2 separate regions of the Homo sapiens genome follow, and region 1 is linked to region 2. The links are contacts of gene promoters, found by promoter capture Hi-C in blood cells and fetal thymus (Javierre and others, 2016). All regions are on one chromosome and are shown on one strand. The core of a region is centred on a gene start or on the middle of the fragment in contact, and the rest is flanking DNA. Distances in the headings are between cores, read along the strand shown.

Region 1 (7,464 bases), core at 3,237-5,736, 140 kb before region 2:
AACGCACACTTACTGTAGCCTGCTGTCGCCGAGTTGCCTCCGTACCCATAGCTTCCATACCCAGCACCTGGAAAGGGAAAGACAGGGTTACCGGGGTCCAGCAGTGTCTCCGGCCCACCCCAGGAGCCCCACACATTTGTTCCCAGAGCATGCACGTGGGGAAGGCGGGGACAGTGCAGTATGAGGGCCCTTACCGGCATTCATGTAGCCTCCATGGTTGGCGCCACCAAATCCTCGCCCGCGCCCTCGTCCCCGGATGCTCCCGCCTCTTCCCCGCCCTCGAAGGTTGGGGGGTGGGGGCACTTCGTTGTGCATGGGGCCTCCCATGCCGAAGCCAGGGTTATGTGGCTAGAAGAGAACACAGGGAAGTGACATTCCCTTCGTGCTCACATTGCAGAAGAACCCATGCCTGGGCAAGGAGGTTCAAGGGCCACTGCTCACCTTAGCAGCAAATTTCGGTCCCCCTCTGACGGGTACTGGGGCTCTCTTCTTTTTGTTGGCATCAAGGGCGAGAGGGGTGTCAGGGAAAAGCTTTTCTAGGGCAGCAAGAGCAGCGTAGGCCTTCGCCACCTTTTTGTTGGAACCAGCACCTTGGAACTTCTGTCCATCCACTTCGACCTGGAAAGTGCAGATGGAGATGACTCAGTGCCTCCCTCCAGGGGCAGGGGGACCCCAGGCCTCCCCATGGGACTGCCCCAGCAGGCAGCTTCAGGCTGCGCACCTCCATGACGAAGCGCTTGTCGTGGCTGCCCCCGGTCTCGGAGATGAGCTCGTACTTGAGCCCACGCCTCTTCTCGTTCAGCTCCATGACTGGGTTCTTGCCGTGCTTTGTCAGGATCGGCCCCTGCTGTTTTACGTTCTCAGGGAAAACAGAAAAGAAGACCGACAAACTCAGCTATGGGCATTCCAGTCACATGGGAGGAGTGGCAGGACTGAGGCAGGGCCTCTGCTCTTCATACACTGCCAGCCCTTGCCAGAGTCTCCACTGACTCTAGTGAGGGCCTTCCAGCAATGTGCCCCCTTCCTGTGCCTCCCCTCTGAACAGCACGTTATCAACCCAAGGCCACCCCAGTGTAGCCTATAGGATGCTGGGACAACATCCACAAGGCCCTCCCCGACACGGCTCGGAGGGCAGCACCCAGCTTCCTGTGCGGACTTCTGGCCTGAAAGGTCCACTTTTTGGGGCAAATTAACAAGGACCAGTAACCACCTCACTGACAGGACACATGGCTGCCTGCTCTGTCCAGGCAGTCACTCCCAGCGCCCACCATGTGCTCACCTCGGCAGTGGCATCTGAGGGAAAGGCCGCACTAGGGGTGGAGACAGCTTCTACCACTGGGGCAGGGGCCACCACTGCTGGCTTCGCCTCGGTCTCCTCAGCCGAGTCCTCCCCCTTGCTCGAGTCCCTGCCTTCAGCACCCGTCGGCAAGCCCATGTCCTGTAACACCTGCAGAGGTGGCAAGACCCCCAAGGTCCCAGTGAAGCAGGGCTGCATGCAGGGCCTCCTCATGGCCTACAGGCACCCACCCGGGAAGCCATCTGGAGGAGGGCTGTTTCCTTTCAGCTCCTGCTCCCAGGAGGCCCTAATGCCCCAATCATGTTTGGGGACCCCTCTGCCTGCCAGCCACAGTGGGAAGGCGTTCTTGCCACGTGACTTGGCAAATACTCGCCATCTAACCATGTGTATTTTTAGAATCTACATGCCCTCCCTGAGAGACAATGGCTCAGAAGGGGCCCAAAACAAAGACCATGGTTCTGCTATTAGAAGACAGTGATGCTGGCCACACTCACCTTAACGGCCACGTGCAGCTTGGCCGTCTTTTTGGAGGGCCCAGAGGCCTCGAATGAATTGCCATCAACCTCCACAGACATGGTAAAGATGGGGGCATGGACGGGCCCAGTCTGGGACACCAGCTTGTACTGCAGCCCTGGCTTCAGCTGGTTCAACCGCATCAGGGCATTCATAGCCTGGGGGGGCTCTGCCTTCTCCTCTACAGAGAGAATAGCAAGGTGGCTCTGGATCAGCACGATGGCAGGTCTCCACGAGAGCTCTGCCAATCCTAACCCCCAGGGCTGCCTCTGTGGCGTAACACAGTGGGTGGGGCAGCCACACAAACTGAGCCCAGCTTGCACCTCTCCTGTGGCCTCCAGCTGTAGCACCACCATCCTACTCATCTTCCACATCCCCAATCATGCCTCATCATTGTTAAAAGGACTCAGAAATCACAAGTGAGAAAAATGAAACAAAAGCAGCCATCCCATAGCTTCAGGGTGAGCCTTCACAGGACCAGATGGATAAAGCAGCAGCACTAGTGGAGGTCTGCACCTTCCTGCTTTTTTACCTATTTAGCTTCTAAAATTTTTCAACACTGATTTTAAGCAAGGTCTCGCTCTGTTGCCCAGGCTGGAGTACAGTTGCTCACTGCAACCTCCGCCTCCCAGGCTCAAGCCATCCTCCCATCTCAGCCTCCCAAGTAGCTGGCACTACAGGTGCGCCACCACACCCAGCTAATTTTTGTATTTTTTGTAGAGACGGGGTTTCGCCATGTTGCCCAGGCTGATGGTCTCAAAACTCCTGAGCTCAAGCGATTCTCCCGCCTCGGCCTCCCAAAGTGCTGGGATTACAGGCGTGAGCCACCGCGCCCGGCCTGTACCTTTCTTCTGAATCTTCTTCTTCTTTTTGCTGGGCGACTTCTCCTCCCCGTCCTCCTCCATTGGGCGTTTCATGGGCGTAATGGCATAGGTGGTGCTTGGTGGGATCTGAACTGCAAGGAGAGACCAGGGCATGGCTGGGAGATGCAGATGGTGACTCTTCCTGGAGCCCCAGCCATCAGGCAACCGCCGCAGGCTTACCGGTGTAGTCCACTGGGTTTTCATTCTTTGGTTTCTTGGGCATCTTGGAAGGCAGAGGGTCCATGCCTAGGACTTTATGGAGCTGGCCGAAGGCAGCGAGCCGCAGTGCGTGCTGGAGAAGGGGAAGAGGCTCTGACTCAGCTGCCCTGTGCTCCCGGCCATGGAGTGTGTGCTCACTACTGCCTTCTGAGGAGGGGCAGAGCTGAAGGGCTGCTAATGGTCTCCCTTACGACAGCAAGGGGTCCCCCACCAGCCAGGGGAGAGCCTGACTGCTCAAGCCCAGCCTTGCTGTGGGGGAAGGCCAGCCTGTGACCACCCCCCTTCCAAAGGAATACAGGAGACCCCAACCTGGGGACTGGTTGCCACACGGAGCCATGTGGGGGCCTGCAGGGGAAGGTCCCCCCGGAGCAGTCCGCACAGCAAACACATCTCCCAGCACCACTCACAGTGTCTGAAAACGGCACTCGAGCAAGCCAAGGGAGGGGGCAGATGAAAACCACGCATGGCACCAGGGGAAAGAAGCAGCCCAGATTGGGGCGCCCTGTATCAGACACAATCCTTTTGCCTTCAGTCCCCGACCTGAGCCTACGAGTCCAGGGGCTACCCTGGGAATACCCAGTAATGGAACTGGAAGCCAGTGATTACAGACTGGGTCAGGGCGCACGTTGGCAATGGCGATGACTATACCTGCGCACTCTGTGTGATATCTTCCCGTTGCTGTCTGTCTAGATGCCCAATAGCATCAGTGGCTTCTTTTTCACAAGGGTCATAAATGCCAGAACCATCTGAAGGCAGGAAACAAGGAAGATATGCAGAGGATTATCTTTTAGCATCTCTGAAGAGGTGTGCTGGCTGAGGGAACTAGGTGTGTTACCCCCCGCGCCCCATCCACACCCAGCTCTGGAAAACATGCCTAGCTCGGTGACCCACTCGGCGTCCAGCCCTTGACAGAAATAATTCACAAGTGTCTCAGAGCAAGAAAGTCACGTGGGAGTGGGTCACCACTGCCCCGGATCCGCCCTCTGAATGACGGCTGCGGACCCGGTCAGGGCTGGATATGATGGTGCCAGAGGGTAGTCACATGCTTCAGCTCTAGGGGGTGGACACGGGGCTGCTGCTGTCCTAACCCAGTCAGTGTACCCGCCAGGAGGCGGCCTGGAACCCTGTCCTTTCCCTGCAACCTGCAAAGCACAAGGCCCCAACCTGGCATCACGATGCCCGACGCCAGGCACTCCAGCACTCTCCGCAGGGCCTCGCCAGCACCCATCGGTCTGTTGGCCGTGCCAATGGATTTCTCACACAGGAGCTCGAGAGGCTGAAAGGGAAGAGGGACAGTGAGCCAAGAGCCTACAGGATGGGGCCGGCCGCCACTGGGGAGCTGTCACTGCATGAGTGGGTCGGGGCACACGTGGGACTCATAGCCAACCAGTCGGGTAAAGTCAAAGCCTCAGGGCTAAGCCTGAGCCAGGGCATCTAGGACAGGGGCCTTCAAGGACCAGACATGACATCCTAGCAGGCTGTGTGAGCTCAGAGACCAAGCTAAGGTTATGATGTAGTACTTCTTACTTAAAATCTAACCATTTATTTACAAATATAAAAACCACCTCAACTGCAAGCTGAAAAAAAAAAGGGTGCAACTGCCAAAAACTGGTCCTGCGTGAGACTATCTACAAACCTTCCCAGAGGGATCATTCCCACCTCCTGGTCAGCCCCCACTCCTGGGATTGAGCTGTGCGACCCTGCAGAGGGCCCCGACCCACACTGCCCCAACCCCAACCCCAGGTGTGGCAAGCAGGAGCAGCTCCACAGGCAGCTCTGGAGAGTACACACCAGCCACGCGTCAAGAGGCCACTCCTGCCCCGTGACCATCAAGTGTTCCTGGGATATCCAAAAGACTCTGCACACACCACCCCCAGTAGCCACAGCAACATGCCTTACCCAGCCTCGGAGGGGACCCCAGGTGGGCACGCGAGTGCACAGGTCCCTCAAGACCCGGATCACAATGACACAAGACTTCAGCCCGTTGGCTCTGGCCTAGGGGAACAAAACACAGGCTCTTCAGTCTGAGGCACCGCCCAGGGCACAAGTCAACATGAACGACACAAGTGTCAGGTTGCTGCTTTGCCAAGGGTAAACAGTCAACACTGGCGACCACCAAGGCTGTGGCCAGCCGCAATGTCACTACGTGTACAAGAGAGTGTTACTCTTAACACAAAGCAGCAGCAGCAGCAGCAGCCCACCAACTCAGTCTCAGCCTCTTTTGGGGTCGAATTTGTTGAGGTGCACTCCTTTAGGACCTGCGCAGCTGCAGGTGCTAAGCTCGGCACGGCTATCGTCAATGTTAAGGAATCTTTATGGTGACAGTTAGCCAAGTTAAAACTTAGGAATTCTCTACCAAAAGACAAATAGAAGAACAAAATGCAAACCTGGAACCACTTGGCGTGTCGGAGGGACGCCAAGGCAGCAAGGCATTTCTGCCTGTCCAGAACGTCCGGGGGGTCGTTGACTGATAGCGTTTCTATTCATGGATGGAATAAGAAGACAAGGCACAGTTTGACCAAGGGGTTTCTGTCAGGTGGAAAGGGGATGTGGCAGCTTTCTAAAGGGCAGCTGAGTTTCCCAGAAGCTGAATTCATCTCCACCCTGGACCAGGGAAGGAGAAACTAGAGCACATTCAACTCTGCCCTGTGAGGAAATTGTAAAAATTGGAGGCCCCCTCCAAAAATAAAAAGAAAAAGAAAAAAGAAAGAAAAAGAAAAAATAAAACAAACATAAAAACAAAAGTGGGGAGTTATTCTAAAAGGAATAATCTCATGAGGGAGGGGAGAGATAGGTGGAGCCTATCTTCTAATCCTCTTCCCTTGCCTCCTCCCCATGTTCTCCCAATAAATTAGCTATGCTAAAATGTTCAATAGGAAAAAATTTAAAAAGGCCGAGGGAGAGGAAATGAACTCCCTCTCTGCATCACACAACAGCCATCCCAAGGCATCTGCAGCAAAGGGGACCAACTCCGCCCACCAGGCGGGACTGCCCTAGCCCCAGCCCTTGACAGAGAGAGTCCTGTTGGTCAAAGGTCCAGCGTCCCTACGTTGATCAACTAGAAGGGCTTTGGTAGTCGGAATCAGCTATGAGAACCAAAGGTAAACAGCAACAAGGGCGCTATGCCAGCCTATGCTGCGGCCAAGCAGAGCGTTTATCTTCTCTGCCATCTGCACACCAGGGGTTTGGATAAGGCCTGAAGACAGGCATGCGAGCGGCGGGCCATGGACTGCGAGCACATTATTAGCGTGAGGTCCAATGATGTGGTTTGAAAAATTGGACAACAGTTTAAAACTTTATCCAAAACTCTGTATCAGCTCTTTGTGCTTCTGTCACTTTAAATGATAAAAGAGCCATGACAGAGGACAAACGAAGAGGCCCTCAGCTCAGCTGCAGCACAGGCTGTTGGTAAACTCCAACGTGGTGCTCATGCAGAAACCATCTGGTTGTCTCATCTTTAAAACCATGGAATCACCAGGGACACTTCTCCACAGCCAGAGAATGGCTCCATAGAAAAGCAACTTCCACATTCATGTTTGAGAACGTTCAAGGATGAAGATAAAGGAAAATGGTGCAGTCCCCTATGAAAAGTGCTACTCACTTTTAGTGCGACTGTTTTGTCAAACTCCCAAGTACTCAAAGCCAACGGGAGATGTGATCTCAGAGTAAAGGTGGTCAATCTACACCGTATACCAAAGCAGTCTAAAACTGAATAGCACATTTGAATAGTGAGGGAACACCACATTTTCAAAGTCCTGCCGGCGTGTCTCGGCCTCCCTACCTCCAGCTAATACTTTCTCCATTTCTTCTCTGACAACAGGGGATGTCAGGTGGATGGTCAGGGACAATGGAGGCTCTTTTGTGTTTTTTATCACAATCGCAGCATCGTCGACAGATTGCAGTATTTCGTACTTGTCTTCTGTTACAGCCTAAAAAATAAAATGCAACTTTCAAAACACTTTCTCCTCAAAGCAATCAACAATTTTATCTGGCTCCACCTATTCCTGCAACAGAAAGGCCAACGTCTTGAGTATGATGACCCGGAAGTGATTTCACCTGGGATGTCAGGGTCTCTCTAATTGGCCAGGTCTTTGGCCACGTTTTGGGTACTTGAAAGAGGGATAACTAGTGAAAGAAGCGATTTCCAAACGGTGCTTAAAAATGCAATGGTAGGGCTGGGAGCCGTGGCTCATGCCTGCAATCCCAGCACTTTGGGAGTCCGAGGTGAGTGGATCACGAGGTCAGGAGATCGAGACCATCCTGGATAACCCGGTGAAACACCATCTCTACTAAAAATACAAAAAACTAGCCGGGCGTGGTAGCAGGCACCTGTAGTCCCAGCTACTCGGGAGGCTGAGGCAGGAGAATGGCGTGAACACGGGAGGCGGAGCTTGCAGTGAGCTGAGATCACACCACTGCACTCCAGCCTGGGCGACAGAGCGAGACTCTATCTCAAAAACAAAAACAAAAACAAAACAACAAACAAACAAAAAAGCAATGTTAGGCCAGGTGCAGTGGCTCACGCCTGTAATCCCAGCACTTTAGGAGGCTGAGGTGGGCGGATCACAAGGT
Region 2 (7,206 bases), core at 1,533-4,032:
ATTTATTTTTTGTTACTTAAAGACAGGATCTCAGCCAGACGCGGTGGCTCATGCCTGTAATCTCAGCACTTTGGGAGACCAAGGCAGGTGGATCACTTGAGGCCTGGAGTTCGAGACCAGCCTGGCCAACATGGTGAAACCCCTTCTCTGATAAAAAAAAAAATATACAAAAAGTAGACAAGCGTGGTGGCGGGCACCTGTAATCCCAGCTACTCAGGAGGCTGAGGCAGGAGAATCGCTTGAACCTGGGAGGCAGAGGTTGCAGTGAGCCAAGATCTCTCCACTGCACTTCAGCCAGGATGATAGAGGAAGACTCAGTCTCAAAAAAAAAAATAATAATAATAATAAATAAAATAAATAAATAAAGACAGGATCTCACTGTCATCCAGACTGGAGTGCAGTGGCACAATCACGTCTCACTACAGCCTCTAAATCCTGAGCTCAACAGATTCTCCCGCCTCAGCCTCCTGAGTAGTTGGGATCACAGGCACATGCCACCACACTCAGCTAATTTTTAAAATTTTTTTGTAGAGACAGGAGCCTTGTCATGTGGCCTAGGCTGGTGTCGAATGCCTATGCTCAAGCGATCCTCCTGCCTCAGCCTCCTAATGTGCTGGGATTACAGGCATGAGCCACCACACTCGACCTGTTATTGTTGGAGTCTCATTCTGTCACTCGGGTTGGAGTGCAGTGGCAGGATCATAGTTCACTGCAGACTTGAACACCTGGGCACGAGCAATCTTCCCACCTCAGCCTCCCAGGTAGCTGGGATTACAAGCATGCAGCACAGTGCCCAGCCAAAACTCTTTTTTTTTTTTTGAGACTGAGTCTCGCTCTGCCACCCAGGCTGGAGTGCAGTGGCACGGATCTCGGCTCACTGCAACCTCCGCCTCCCCGGTTCAAGCAATTCTCTGCTTTACCTTGCCAAATTACAGGTGCCTGCCACCACACCCAGCTAATTTTTGTATTTTTAGTAGAGATGGGGTTTCACCATCTTGGCCAGGCTGGTCTTGAACTCCTGACCTCATGATCCACCAGCCTCAGCCTCCCAAAGTGCTGGGATTACAGGCATGAGCCACCGTGCCTGGTGAAACTTTTTTTTATTTTTATTTTTGACACAGAGTCTCCCTCTGTTGCCCAGGCTGGAGTGCAGTGGTGCGATCTTGGCTTGCTGTAACCTCCGCCTCCTGGGTTCAAGAGATTCTCCCACCTCAGCCTCGGGAGTAGCTGGGATTACAGGCGTGTGCCACCACAACCGGCTAATTTTTGTATTTTTAGTAGAGATGGGGTTTCATCATATTGGCCAGGCTGGTCTTGAACTCCTGACCGCAAGGGATCCATCCGCCTCAGCCTCCCAAAGTGCTAGGATTACAGGCATGAGCCACCGTTTCCAACCCCGGCTGAAACTCTTATAAACAACTCTCATCTCTCCAAAACTTACTTGACACACAATTCTAACGTGACTTTGAACTCTTAGTTGGTAAGTAATTCTAATACTGCTGATATGGCAGTTGACCCTGTACTCCTAGTGCACCCCTTCCCCCCTATGGCTCACCTCTGGGCAGGAAATGCAGCAGAAGGCCCTGTGCCAGCATCATCTGGCCGCTGCGTAACATGCACCCCCAGCCACAGTCCGAGGTCAGGCAGCCCCCAGGAAGGGGCGGGAAGTCCCGGCGGTATGTGAGCCACAGGCGGGACACAAAGTCCCGCTGGAAACGCTGTATGTCACCTACAAGAGCGGGTCTGTCAGCTGCCACCAGGGACACTCCGGCGGGCGTGGAGAGGCCTCCCCCAGCCCTGGTCCCAACCACCAGCTCACCCTCGCCCTCGAAACGGTAGCGGCGGCCACAGAGGTGGATGCTGGAGATCTTGCTAAAGCTGGTCCGGCTTTTAACCACCCAACCTGGGGAGACGTAGGGGCAGCGCCCAGCGAGATGAAGCACTTGCATGACAGCAACAGCGCTTCCATTCCCCCATCTGTGAAATGGGCACGATCCTAGTTCCTATCTCCGGGGTGGCTCCGGGGATTCCGTCGGAGGTGGGGCCCCCAGTGACAGCTACAGGAGTGTCCACCATCAATTCAGGATGAAGGAAGGTAGTTCTGATTATTGTACCCATTTTACAGAGAGGGGCAAAAACGGAGGCGCCAGGAAGCAAAGGATCTTGCCCAAGGTCACACAGGGGAATGGGCGGGGCTTGAAAACACTATTGGACCTGCCACAGGTCCACCCTGGGCCGGGCAGGGAGGGGACCCACAGGTGACTCAGGACGGGAACAAGGGTGGGATAACTGGCAGGACCGGGGTCTGGTTTTCCTCAACGGCCCCCGACACCCCCACGATCTCCGGGCCCCCTCCTCACCGTACTTGACGTTGTTCCAGGCTGTCAGGAACTTGGCCTTGAACTTGTCCACTTCGTCCGGCTCACTCGGGCCAGCCCCGGGAGAGCCAAGAGCGGGGCCGCTGGCTCCGGAAGGCCCCAGGCCGTTGGGGTCTGGGCCTCTGGGACCCCGCGGCCTGCGGGCCTCGGGCCGGCGGCGCGCGTCCTCCGGGCTGCTGCTCCGGTACTGCGCGGCGGCCGGCGACACTGAGTTCATGGACGCGCCGGGAGGGCGGACCGAGGGCCCAGGTGGGGGGCTGCGGCCGCTGCCCCCCAAGGGCGACCCGCAGCCGGTTCACGGGGCCCGGGGAAGGCGCTACTCGGCCCCCGTCCCCAGGGTACCGGGCCAGGCAACAGCCGCCGCCGCTGCTACCGCAGCCATCGCCATCTTAGCGGGCCAGGACCCCGGATGACGGTGGGCGTGGCCAAGCCAGACGCCCCGCCCCGCCCTCTCCCCGCCCAGCCGCCTTTCCTGCCCCGATCCCGGGTCGCCAGGCGGGGACCTCAAACCCCGACGCCTTCCCGCGGCCTCCCCCCGCCCTCCTTATCACACCGCCAGGAGCGCGACAGCCCCTTCAGGCCCTTATCGGAGGCAGCAGAGCTGGGGAACCCCTGCCCCTGGCCCCGCCCCTAGTCCTGCCCCCCAGGGCCCAGGACTGACCTCCTGGCAGGCGCCCAGGTGAGACTGACTGCGCACCTGCAGCGCCCGCCCCGCCTCCCGAGTGCACCTGCGCGGGCTGCCGACCCAGAACCCGCCCTGGCCTGGGACCAAATCGACTAGTGTGACCTCCGGGGCAAGCCACGCCTCTCTGTGCCTCAGTTTCCTCATGTGCAAAATAGGGCTGGAATACACGCAACAACATAGACGAATCTTCATGAGAATTATGCTCAGGGAAAAAAAATCCAGGGGTAGGCAGGCGCGGGAGGGAGGGATGAATGAAGTGCTCCAGGAAAGTTTTTTTCAGTGTTTGTTTTGTCGAGACAGCATCTGGCTCTGTTGTCCAGACTGGAGTGCAGTGGCGCTTTCATAGCTCACTGCAGCCTCCAACTCTGATCCTCCAACCTCAGCCTCCAGAGTAGCTGAGACCGCAGACAGGAGCCACCATGCCTGGTTAATTTTTTAAATTTTATTTGTAGATAAGGGGTCTCGCTATGTTGTCTAGGCTGGTCTCAAACTCCTGGCTTCATGAGATCCTCCCGCCTCAGCCTCCCAAATGCTGGGATTACAGGCGTGAGCCACCACCTCAGGCAGGAAGACATTTTTTGGAGCTGTGGATAAATTCAGTATCTTAACTGTAATAGTGGCTTCACAGGTGTGAAAACTCATCAGATTGTACGCTTAAAATTTGCATGGTTTTGTATATGTCTATTATACCTCAATAAGGCTGAAAAAAAACCTCTTTGTTTTAAAAAGTAATCAGTTAACTTTTTATAGAGACAAGTTCTCTCTATGTTGCCCAGGCTGGCCTGAAACTCCTTAGCTCAAGTGATCCTCCTGCCTCAGCCTCCCAAGTAGCTGAGACTACAGGAAAATATTTTATTTTATTTTATTTTTTAATTTTTTTTCTCTAACCTTGCGAGGCCCAAACAGATTTTGGTTGTTGTTGTTGAGACAGGGTCTTGCTCTGTCATCCAGACTACAGTGCAGTGGCCTGATCATGGCTCACTGCAGTCTCAACTGCCGAGGCTTAAGCAAGTCTCCTGCCTCAGCCACCTGAGTAGCTAGGACTATAGGCACATGCCACCACCCCTGGCTAATTTTTTTTTTTTTTTTTGAGACGGAGTCTCGTTCTGTTGCCCAGGTTGGAGTGCAATGGCGCGATCTCGACTCACTGCAAGCTCTGTCTCCCAGGTTCACACCATTCTCTTGCCTCAGCCTCCCGAGTAGCTGGGACTACAGGCGCCCGCCACCACGCCTGGCTGATTTTTTGTATTTTTAGTAGAGACGAGGTTTCATCGTGTTAGCCAGGATGGTCTCGATCTCCTGACCTCGTGATCCGCCCACCTCGGCCTCCCAAAGTGCTGGGATTACAGGCGTGGGCCACCGTGCCTGGCCACCCCTGGCTAATTTTTAAAAATTTTTCTGTAGAGATAGAGTCTCCCAGTGTTGCTCAGGCTAGTCTTGAACTCCTGGGCTGAAACGATTAGCCTCAGCCTCCCAAAGTTCTAGGATGACAGACATGAGCCACTGCACCTGGCCAGGGACAATTTTTATTTTTTATTTTATTTTCATTTATTTATGTATTTATTTTGAGATGGAGTTTCGCTCTTGTTGCCCAGGCTGGAGTGCACTAGTGCGATCTTGGCTCACTGCAACCACCACCTCTCAGGTTCAAGCAATTCTGCTGCCTCAGCCTCCTGAGTAGCTGGGATTACGGGCGCACACCACCACGCCCAGCTAATTTTTGTATTTTTAGTAGAGATAGGATTCCACCACGTTGGCCAGGCTGGTCTCGAACTCCTGACTGAGGTGATCCGCCAGCCTCGGCCTCCCAAAGTGCTGGGATTACAGGCATGAGCGATTGCACCCAGCCAGGAAAAAGTTTTAAATGTGTCTAACTCATAAAGATGTATGGGAATGAGCTGAACTTACCAATGTAAAGTGCTTAGAGTGGTATTTGAGGAACAGTTGGGGCTCAGTGAGAGCCAACTGCATGATGACAATGCAGTGACCCTGTGAGCCATGGAGAGGGTGGCCTCTAGTGGCCAGCCCCGGGGCTCTGTCCTCAGCTCTCTGAAGGAGGTAAGAAAGATTTGAATGAGGGTGTGATCCAAGAAGGAGAAGGCACAAAAGGGGCAGTCACCTCCCTGACTTTCCTTTTTTCCCCTCTCCTCCCAGTCGCCTTCAATCACAATTGACCCCTTTCTCTTTCATTAATTTATTAATTTATTGATTTATTTTATTTTATTTTTTTGAGACAGAGTCTTGCTCTGTAGCCCAGGCTGGAGTGCACTGGCACAATCTCAGCTCACTGCAACCTCCGCCTCCCAGGTTCAAGCAATTCTCCTGCCTCAGCCTCTGGAGTAGCTGGGATTACAGGTGTGAGCCACCACACCCGGCTAATTTTATATTTTTAGTAGAGACAGAGTTTCACCATGTTGACCAGGCTGGTCTTGAACTCCTGACCTCAGGTGATCTGCCCGCCTGGGCCTCCCAAAGTGCTGGGATTACAGGCTTGAGCCACTGCAACCAGCCAAGTGCACCCTTTCTCAAACTCAACAGAGCCAATGCCACCTCAGAGTCTTTGCACTTGCTGTTCCCTCTGCCCAGACCACGTTTCTTACCATGGCTCTCCGTCACCTCCTTCAGGTCTTTTTTTTTTTTTTTGGCAGGGTCTCACTTTGTTGCCCAGGCTGGAGTGCAGTGGCACGATCATAACTCACTGCAACCACGACCTTCTGGGCACCAGTGATCCTCCTGCCTCCTGAGTAGCTGGGATTACAGGCATGTGCCACCACACCCAGCTAATTTTTATATTTTTAGTAGAAATGGGGTTTCACCATGTTGGCCAGGCTGGTCTCGAACTCCTGACCTCAAGTAATCCACCCACCTCAGCCTCCCAAAGTACTGGGATTACAGACGTGAGACACTGTGCCCGGCCGCAAGTCTTTATTCAAATATCACCCCTACACGAAGATTACCACTCTCAAAATTCTCCCCCATCTCCATCCTTGGTCTCCTTCTCTTCCCTGCCTTTTTCCCCCTCCCCGCCGCATGGGAGTAGTTATCACAACCTTACTGTCTTTATCCCCTTGGGCTGCTGTGACAAATACCATAGCCTTGGGGGCTAAAACAACACACCTTTGCTTCTCACAGTTCTAGAGGCTAGAAAGTCCCAGATCAGGGTGCCAGCATGGTTCTTGGTGGGATTCTCTTCTATTTTTTGTTTTGTTTTGTTTTTTTGTTTTAGATGGAGTTTTTGCCCAGGCTGGAGTGCAATGGCAATCTCGGCTCACCACAACCTCTGCCTCCCGGGTTCAAGCGATTCTCCTGCCTCAGCCTCCCGAGTAACTGGGATTACAGGCGCCCACCACCACACCTGGCTAATTTTTTGTATTTTTGGTAGAGACAGGGTTTCTCCATGTTGCTCAGGCTGGTCTCGAACTCCCGACCTCAGGTGATCTGCCTGCCTTGGCCTCCCAAAGTGCTGGGATTACAGGCGTGAGCCACCGCGCCCAGCTGAGATTCTCTTCTTATCTTATATCCTCTCACCTGCCTTCCTTTCTTTTTTTTTTTTTTTTCTCACAGTCTCACTCTGTTGCCAGTACTGGAGTGCAGTGGCATCATGATCTTGGCTCACTGAAGCCTTGACATCCTGGTCTCAGCCGGGCTCGGTGGCTCATGCCTGTAATCCCAGCACTTTGGGAGGCCGAGGCAGGCAGATCACGAGGTCAGGAGATAAAGACCATCCTGGCTAACACAGTGAAACACAAAAAATTAGCCAGGTATGGTGGCGGGCGCCTGTAGTCCCAGCTACTCAGGAGACTGAGGCAGGAGAATGGTGTGAGGGCCCCACCCTCAAGATTGCGTCCAACCCCAATTCCCTTTTTTTTTTTTTTTGAGACAGAGTCTCACTCTGTTGCCCAGGCTGGAGTACAGTGGCGCGATCTTGGCCCACTGCAACCTCGACCTCATGGATTCAAGTGATTCTCCTGCCTCAGCCTCCCGAGTAGCTGGGATTACAGGCACGCGCCACCACACCCAGCTAATTTTTTGTATTTTTAGTAGAGACAGGTTTCGCCACGTCGGCCAGGCTAGTCTTGAACGCCTGACCTCAGGGTATCTGCCCTCCTCAGCCTCTCAAAGTGCTGGGATTACAGGCATGAA

Evidence for each region. The method cuts DNA at HindIII sites, captures the fragments that hold promoters and counts their contacts. A CHiCAGO score of 5 or more calls a contact.
Region 1: a fragment that was not itself captured here is called in contact with the fragment with the promoter of ATG4D in region 2 in 9 of 17 cell types (M0 macrophages, neutrophils, M1 macrophages and 6 more); the score reaches 9.1 in M0 macrophages.

What each region holds. Positions count from the first base shown.
Region 1 is chr19:10,676,520-10,683,983 of GRCh38, reverse strand. It overlaps ILF3 (interleukin enhancer binding factor 3), which reads right to left. Exons shown (of 20, transcript NM_017620.3): 5 at 6,674-6,821; 6 at 5,280-5,371; 7 at 4,792-4,887; 8 at 4,057-4,168; 9 at 3,541-3,638; 10 at 2,854-2,965; 11 at 2,655-2,765; 12 at 1,792-1,991; 13 at 1,280-1,447; 14 at 722-859; 15 at 442-618; 16 at 195-348; 17 at 14-67. Among named protein-coding and RNA genes, the nearest start is that of QTRT1, 21 kb to the left of the region's middle. The HindIII fragment of the contact is 7,906 bases long and covers 534-7,464 here.
Region 2 is chr19:10,539,480-10,546,685 of GRCh38, reverse strand. ATG4D (autophagy related 4D cysteine peptidase) reads right to left here and starts at 2,782. Exons shown (of 10, transcript NM_032885.6): 1 at 2,361-2,782; 2 at 1,820-1,903; 3 at 1,556-1,729. The coding sequence starts at 2,595. RefSeq lists an enhancer at 1,796-2,391 and silencers at 2,437-2,616, 2,667-3,006, 3,017-3,066. The HindIII fragment of the contact is 8,842 bases long and covers 1-7,206 here.